3 separate regions of the Homo sapiens genome follow, and regions 2 and 3 are each linked to region 1. Evidence: promoter capture Hi-C in 16 types of primary human blood cells and fetal thymus (Javierre and others, 2016). All regions are on one chromosome and are shown on one strand. Each heading gives the region's core, a stretch centred on a gene start or on the middle of the fragment in contact. The rest is flanking DNA. Distances are from core to core; before and after follow the strand shown.

Evidence for each region. The method cuts DNA at HindIII sites, captures the fragments that hold promoters and counts their contacts. A CHiCAGO score of 5 or more calls a contact.
Region 2: a fragment that was not itself captured here is called in contact with the fragment with the promoter of FRMD7 in region 1 in 2 of 17 cell types (neutrophils and non-activated CD4 T cells); the score reaches 6.6 in neutrophils.
Region 3: a contact is called between a fragment that was not itself captured here and the fragment with the promoter of FRMD7 in region 1, in 3 of 17 cell types (naive B cells, activated CD4 T cells and monocytes). The highest score is 5.8, in naive B cells.

The regions. Positions count from the first base shown.
Region 1 is chrX:132,126,589-132,129,503 of GRCh38, reverse strand. FRMD7 (FERM domain containing 7) reads left to right here and starts at 1,484. Exons shown (of 12, transcript NM_194277.3): 1 at 1,484-1,716. The coding sequence starts at 1,660. The HindIII fragment of the contact is 2,038 bases long and covers 1,291-2,915 here.
Region 2 is chrX:131,872,350-131,875,264 of GRCh38, reverse strand. No RefSeq gene overlaps it. Among named protein-coding and RNA genes, the nearest start is that of FIRRE, 43 kb to the right of the region's middle. The HindIII fragment of the contact is 1,766 bases long and covers 676-2,441 here.
Region 3 is chrX:131,896,743-131,899,657 of GRCh38, reverse strand. No RefSeq gene overlaps it. Among named protein-coding and RNA genes, the nearest start is that of FIRRE, 68 kb to the right of the region's middle. The HindIII fragment of the contact is 1,873 bases long and covers 534-2,406 here.

The DNA.
Region 1 (2,915 bases), core at 235-2,734:
TTCTTAAATGGTTTGCATGAGAGCCACTTGGAGTGCATGTTGAAAATTGATCTATTTGGGGTCCACCCCAAACCTAACAACCCAATTTGGGGATGGGGTTCAGGTATCGGCATTTTTAAAAAGTCAGCCACCCTTCCCAGGTGATTCTGTAAGTTGGTCCCTCAACCGTACTTAGAGAAATAGTGTTTTAAAGCAGTGGTCCACAAAGTATTCTGCTCATGTGACCCCCAAAAGTATTTTGAAAAATCATGTGTCCCCTCACCCATCTAAGTTGACATCTAAAATTTTTCATGGGAAGTTAAATACTTGACAAAGTATGTGTTTGCTGGTGTCATATAAATATTGGTATTTTAAAATAAAAACTGTTACATCACTATTTTAAACATATCCGGTACAATTTAAATATCACAACAATTTGACACCCTTTATTCATTTATAAAAATAAACGAGCTAGTTCTTTAGTAGTTGAACATTTTAAATTGGCTTTTCTTCTTCTATATTTTCATACCACTTTCAGCCAAGAATCCTATCGTAATGTAATCTACTGTGCTTGGCATCTTTTAATCATTCACCCATTATCTTCTTGTCAACAAAAAATACAAATGGAGGTAAGTTTTCTTAGTTCTTGCCTTAAGTGTTATCTCAGTCCAGAATAAATGTCATCGTAATTATTGTTATATAATGAAAATGATATTAATGTAATTCTTTGATGACTGTTTTATTAGAACGTTCTTTATCCTAATTAGTTCATTTATCCAAGAATACATGAATGTTATTTACAGCTGAGATGGGGTTCGACCTTAGTTGTATTCCTTGTTTCATTTCTTTATAGATGTAAGCACATAAATTCTATGGGAATAGAAAGAAAAAAAATTGGTTACCAATAGGGGTGTATTGGGAACACAGAAAAGAGGGAACAGGAGTGGAAGTGAAGTTTTCTATATACCTTTTTATATAGTTTTTATTTCTAAATCATGTGAATTCAGATAATTAAAATTATGCATAATTTTATATTATATATGTTTCTATATAATAGCAATTATATGGATATATTATATCTATATAATTATATATGGATATATTATATCTATATAATTATATATGGATATATTATATCTATATAATTATATATAGATATATATAAGCATAGATAGATAGATAGATAGATAGATAGATAGATAGATAGATAGATAGATGCTTCCTAGCTTGGCCATGAAATTTCTAGTACAATTTGAGATTAACTTGAATCTTTTTACTTTTGAGAATGGCTATTCTCAGTTTATTAAAGCTTGATCTAGGGTTTTCAAATTGTGCCCTTGTGAAATAAAGAAAATCCCCAGGGACCACAAATGCTTGCTTTCTTTATATTTTTCTTTGAAGAAAGGAGCTGAGTTTAAGAAGGCTAGAGGAAGTCCAGTTAGATTTGATATTGACCAAACAGGAGACTGCCCAGATGCTATTGATCCCCTGCACTTGGCAGCACAAATGCCCTTGGGTGTGCATTACTTCAAGCAAACGGAAGTGTGCCCCGCTGACAGTGGGAATGCCTGGCTGGGGGTGGGGGGGCCCGAGTGCACCACATCCAGCTGGGAGTGAAATTCCTGGAGAAAGCACCCACAGCACTCTGAGCCTGCTTGCAGCCCAACGGCCTCGCTGAGAATGCTACATTTAAAAGTGCAGTTTTTGGATGATTCCCAGAAGATTTTTGTGGTTGATGTAAGTGGAAATCACATTGCTATTATTCCTTTATTATTCATTCAATAATTGTCATTTGTGAACAGCCCATTAGAGAGCAATGTTATGTCTTCTTTAGGACTGAATGAAGGAGGACTGTGATTTTTAGCTTTGGAAAAATAATCTGTATTTAACATCACAATGTAGTTCATATTTTTCCATTAACCTTTCTCTTAGAACAAGTTGTCTTTTCTCAAGGGACAACAATAGCAAATTTTAAAGACAGGATAACTATTTGCAAAAAGTAAAGCAGCAATAAACTAGTTCTTTTACCCAATAAGGTATTGTTGTTCATTGAAATTATGTCTGTGGGTCTCACCCCATGAGCATTTGTGGGGAGAAAACTGTTGTTCTGAGGGAAAGGAGTGGGGGAAGCTATCCTCCTTTTCTGAAGAAAACCTATGGGTTATAAGGGGTAGAATTATGTAGTTGTAATGAGAACTTCAGGAAGGAATGACAAGTATGAGAGAGAAAAATAGGATAAGAGACTATTTAGTTTGATTTAGTACTTATAGTTCAGAGTTCTTAATAAATTCCTAGCTACAAGATGATTGCATACAATTATACCTCATCTCTTCAAGAAAGAACAAATGTATTAAGCACATCATTTGGTGCTCATGTTCCAACATCTTAAGATATGTACATTTTGATGTCAGGATTTATGTATGAGCATTTTGAAAAGTTCTACATTTTTATTGGAACCAAAAATGCTATTTGCTCTGATATTTACATTAGCCACTAACAAGAGACAAATAGTTTATTTTCTCTGAAATTCATACAAAATGTTGGTTTTTTTCTTTTATACATAAACTGACAACTGCTGTGGCTCAGCCATGATGTTGTGTGTGTGGGTAGCCCATTTTTCCAATGAGTATTTTATTTTTATTTGAATCATGTGCTTTGTGAGTGATGACTTCATGTCTTCATCTGCTGTTTTGCTGTCTCTTCCTTTCAGTTTTATGCGCAAAAGGCATTTCTAGTTCCACGGACCTGAATGATTTGTTTTTGTAGCAAATAGCTTCCATTAGAGGTATGAGGCATTTCCTATTCTTTCTTGGAACTATATTTAAGGGGTGGAAAATATCTTTTGAGTAGTTTATCCATTTGCAGACTGGTGGTGTATGCTCACAGTGCTGCAGTACCTGAATTAGTGAGCTGGGTATTCAAAAGATATTGCTTTA
Region 2 (2,915 bases), core at 309-2,808, 250 kb after region 1:
ACATGGCTGCAGCAGGAGGGAGAGATAGAACAGGGAGGTGCTACACACTGTTAAACAACTTGGCGATGTTTTTAAGAGTATGGTGATCTGGGCATGTAGGGTTATACCCTATAAAGTGAGAGGCAAAAATTTGCTGTCACATTACATACTCATGATATATCCATCATAAAGAAAGAGTCACAAGATAAAATAGTCCTCTTTGGATTTTGGAAGAGGCAAAATATATCACACTTAATTGTGATACTCTAATCCATTTACCAGATAACCTAGTAGGATACCTTTTCTTTTTTTCTTTCTTTTTTTTTTTTTTTTTGAGATGGAGTCTCGCTCTGTTGCCCAGGCTGGAGTGCAGTGCAGTGGCGCTATCTCGGCTTACTGCAAGCTCCACCTCCCGGGTTCATGCCATTCTCCTGCCTCAGCCTCTGGAGTAGCTGGGAATACAGGCACCCGCTGCCACGCCCGGCTAATTTTTTGTATTTTTAGTAGAGACCGGGTTTCACCATGTTAGCCAGGATGGTCTTAATCTCCTGACCTCGTGATCCACCCACCTCAGCCTCCCAAAGTGCTAGGATTACAGGCGTGAGCCATCACGCCTGGCCTAGGATACCAATTTTAAGTAGGATTTAGAGTAGGGGGAAGAAAGCTTTGCAGCAAATCCAAGCTGCAGTGCAAGCTTCCCTGCCACTTGGGCCTATGACTCAATAGACCCAATGATGTTAGAGGTAGCTGTGGCAAACACAGAAGTTTATGGAGTCCTAGTAGTTGAATCACAATAGAGGCTTCTGTAGTTTGGAGTTGGGCTATACCTTCTTCTGTCTGCAAAGTAATCTCCATTTGAAAAGCAGCTTCCGATTTGTTACTGGGCCTGGTAGAAACAAATACCTGACTATGGGGCAACAAATGACTACATGACTCCAGCTCACCATTCTGTGTTGGGTATTATAGAGTCCACTGAACTAAGAAATTGAATGTGCACAGGACCATTTCACTATAAAATATAAATGCAGTACATAAAACAGGTGAGAGTAGTTCCAGAAGGTGTAAGGAAACCATACAAGCAGGTGGCTAGACCCCTCTAGTATTTACCCGTGCTGCTTGGCTGCCTCTTTCTCTACCAAAACCTGTGGCATCATGAGGAGTACCCTATAAGCAGGTACAATAACAAGAAATTCATGGGCCTAAGCGTTAGGCACTTAGCAGAGCCACTCCAGAACCAGGCCCATGAATTTGTGTATACAGGCACCAGCAATGCACTATAGCCCCATGCAGTGTCAGGCCTAAAAAGCAAGAGTTATTCACAATAGCAAAGACATGGAATCAACCTATATGCCCATCAATGGTGGATTGGATAAAGAAAATGTGGTACATATATAGTATGAAATACTACATAGCAGTGGCCAGGGGCGGTGGCTCACGCCTGTAATCCCAGCACTTTGGGAGGCCGAGGCAGGCGGATCACAAGGTCAGGAGTTCAAGACCAGCCTGACCAACATGGTGAAAACCCGTCTCTACTACAAATACAAAAATTAGCTGGGCATGGTGGCATGCACCTGTAATCCCAGCTACTCAGGAGACTGAGACAGGAGAATCGCTTGAACCCAGGAGGCAGAGGTTGCAGTGACCCAAGATTGCGCCACTGCACTCCAGCCTGGGCAACAGAGTGAGGCTCCATCTCAAAAAAAAAAAAAAAAGAAAGAAAGAAAGAAATACTACATAGCCATAAAAAAACAGAATCACGTCCTTTGCAACAACATGGATATAGCTGAAGGACATTATCCTAAGTGAATTAACACAAGAACAGAAAACCATATACCACATGTTCTCACTTATAAGTGGAAGCTAAACATTGAATACACGTATACACAAAGATGATAACAATACACCCTGGGGACCACTAGATGGGGCGAGGGGAGGAGACCATGGTCTGAAAAACCACCTATTGACACTATGGTCACTGTCTGGGTGATGGGATCATTTGTACACCAAACCTCAGCAACACGCAATATACCCATGTGACAAACCTGCACATATACCTTTTAATCTATAATAAATATTGAAATTATTTTTTAAAAATATAAAACAGTAGTAAATAGAAATCCTCCCAGTGAGTAGAAGTGTGGGTAGTATATTTGCTTCTCCACATTGTTTGGAAGGACAAATGGCCAGAGACATGAATCTATACTGCTTCATGAGAAATGGCTAACAAATTAGATGGCTGGAAAAGGATTTGAAAAAAATAACATTAAAAATTTTGGGAAAAAAGAGGTTTCTAGGAAAGGTAAATGAATGAACTTCTCTGAATGGGGACAGGATGTGATGATCCTAGTGCCCCATCTAATTGCCAACCAGAGGGCATGCACTGCAATATCAATAATCAGGTAGACAAGATGACATGATCTGTGACTATCAGTCAGCTTCTTTACCTGTGCCATCCTGAAGCTTGCCCAATGACCCATTGTATAAAGCAGCAATGACAGTAGTGAAGAAGGCCATATTTTTGGTCAAAACCAAAGACTTCCTCTTATCAAGGTTCATCTTGCTACGAACACTGTTGAGCTCCTAATATTATATGAGCAGGGACAAATATTGCTCCCTAGTTTGGCACCATTCCCTTTGGAGACTAGCCAGTCATCTGGAGAAGGTTGACTCTATCATATAGAGGGAGTGATATGTCCTCACAAAAATAGATACATATTCTGGATATGTATCTTCATTGACCTTCATTGACCTTCAATTGACCACAAATCTTTGGCTTTCACCACCAGTTGTGAACTTAAAAATGCCATATTTGTTGCCATGGCATTTCACACAATGTTACCTCTGATCAAAGAACTCATTTTATAGTGAGAGTAGTGTGGCAATGGACATACACCACCAGAATTCACTGATCTTACGATTTGCTCCATTACCCAAAT
Region 3 (2,915 bases), core at 221-2,720, 230 kb after region 1:
AGTTTTGTGACTTCAACACTTTTGAAGAGTACAGACCAGTTATTTTGTAGAATGTCTCTCAATGCATCCTGTCCTTTCTATTCTGTGTTTTAATGAGCGCCTCATACAATTATGATGTAAGCTCAAGTTTGGAGATCACTGCAGGTCTAGCCTTGTCAACACCTTTCCTCCATTTTCTCAAAACGTATTTCAAACTTTTGTCAGTCTTTTCAAACCCCCTACATTGCATACTCCTTCATTTTCACAAAAAATCTAGACCTTAGAGCAGAGGTTTCTAGTCTTTCTATTGCCATTACCAAAAAACTTTTGTGCCATACTATATCCTTTCTACCCACTTTTTTCAATTGAAGAAGGCACCTTTCAGCTACTCAATGAAAAGCCATCTCTCTCAATCGATAGATAGATGATAGATAGATAGATAGATAGATAGATAGATAGATAGATAGATAAATAGATAGATAGATAGATATTCTGGGTTGCAACTCCTCTGTTCAGTGACTTTCTCCATCAATCAACTATATTCTGAATAAGCTTTGAATCTATTGATTTTTGGTCCCTACCCCATAAATTTCTCCATTCTCTCCTATCTTTAAAAGTCCCCCATATCACCCTCTAACAGATCCTGTAACTTCTTCTGTTTTATATCCAAGAGAACTACATTAGCTATTTGTTCTTCTTCGCCAGTATTTGATTCACACCTCACAGAAATCTATTTTACCCCATACATCTTTGAAACCATCTTTCCAAATCACCAATGACAAGAATGCCAGGGAGAGAGTTACAAATTTTAAATAAGTCATCAGGAAAGGCCTTACTGAAAAGGCAAAATCTTTCCTCCTATGTCTCTAACCACCTTTATTCATACTGCTTTCTGAAGTAGGTCTTCCGCCTGTCCCATAAATGTTGATGTTTACCAAGATTCTGTGGTTCCATCCTCTTCTCTTTCCTTCCAAATTTATATGAGCAGCTTAGGCCTCTCTCCAGAACTCCAGGCAAACATGTTGGCTAAATCAGAACACATTTGAGTAAGTATTCCATGCCTCATTATGGCATCACTCTCCTTATCTTTATCACCTGGGAATTATTCTTCATGCTTCCCCCTGTATACCCAAAACCCAAAAAGAGGAGATTTTGCAAAGTAGAGCTGAGAAAGGCATGAAAATCTACAAAGGGGAATCAAGATAAGGATTGAAAAGTTTTGATCAAGAGAGACAGCATCGACTCAAGAAAACACTGGATTAGTGTAGGAGAAAGAAGGATAGGACAGAAGAGGAAGAGACCTAGTTACAGGTACCCTATAAACGTGCTGTGTTAGAAGACTTTGGGAACTAGTTGGCCAAGACGGCAATGAGAAGGATTAGATAAGTTACATAATGTATATGGGGTCTCATGGGGAAGAAGGAGAAAAACAATCACAATCTTGGCCATGATTTTCAGGGAGAACACATATGCTAAGCTCAAAAATGTGTGTAAGGATTGGGAGTAAAAATGGCCAGATGGGTTGTTAAAGTACACCATGGAAGACAAAGCAATGAAACAGGAGATGGGAAAGAATAATAATTTATTCTTTTTCCAGTTTATCCTTTTTATGAGAAATTGATGTGACGGAAATCCAATACTTACAGAAATGATGTTGAAAAAACATTTATTATGATACATAAAACGCTTTAAAAGAAGAAATTATGAGTATAAGGAATAATAATTTATGCAATAATACTTCTAAAATGATAAAGTATTTTCCATATGAAAGAGAATTTTTATCATGAGATGGAATCACCTTAACATGGAATTTGAGGGTCTGTTGCACATTAGTTCAAAGAAGGTGTTTGCCTGTAAAATGAGATCTGAGGAGGAATTCTTAGATGATAGTTGCATAAACCCTATCTTGTGTATTAATTCCATTCATCTTGTGTGACAAGTACCAACAAAGCGTAGGTCACAAAAAAATTGCTGTTGTTACCCTAAAAAAGAACCTCTCCCAAGGAGCTGCTATGGTGGTTCTAGTTAGTACTACTCTCTTTGTATACTTATTTTTGAACACACTTGTGTTTTTAGAGCTTAAAGTGGTTCCCAAAATGCTTATATTCTATAATTAATCAAGATAAATGCTAAAGAAATCCTTGTTCAACTCTAGCCATGACTTTGTAGAGTTTGTACAAATGTATTAGACTCTACCGTACATTTGTACAACTGCTTAAATATGAGCCTTCTTCTCTTTTTATTTAGGACCTATAAAGGCAAAGGAAGGCTGATAAAGTTGTGTAGCCTACTGGATCCTGAAGAAAGGTGCTTATATTAGGTTATATTACGTCAATGATTCTGGTCCATTTCTGGTCAATAGTCAAACTTATAATTAAATAGTCTATTAATCTCATAAATAACGTAACTGGGTGATTGACTGAAGCTTTGACAGAAAGAAGTAGTGGCTTATTTTTGCATTTATGCTGTATCTCCTCATAAATAATTTTTGCCAGTTTTTAAGCAAATTGGCTAGACACTTTGTACTTTTTTGATAAATTTAAAATCAAACAGTTATGATGCCATGTGAATGGCCATAAATTTATTTTGCTTTTTAACGGGCTGTTCCATCTGTCATTTTAGATACAACCTAATATGCTAAATTAGACTATATGATGCTAAAACAACCAGGCAATTCGATGAAAACCAAACTAGTAAAAGTGGCATGAAGTAAAGCCAACATCTAGTGGATTTACTGAAATCTCACTCGTTGCTCGACTGTTCTGTCATTGTTCTTCAATTGACAGATACTTAACAGGTTTAGGTCCTCCACCTCCATATAGGCCCAAACAAAATCTGATTAATCAAAATGGTTCCACAAAGTCAAAGCTTACCAGAAATTATGAAGTAATACTAGTCGAGTTTCAGGATGCATGTTCCCTGGAGCCCTTAGAAAA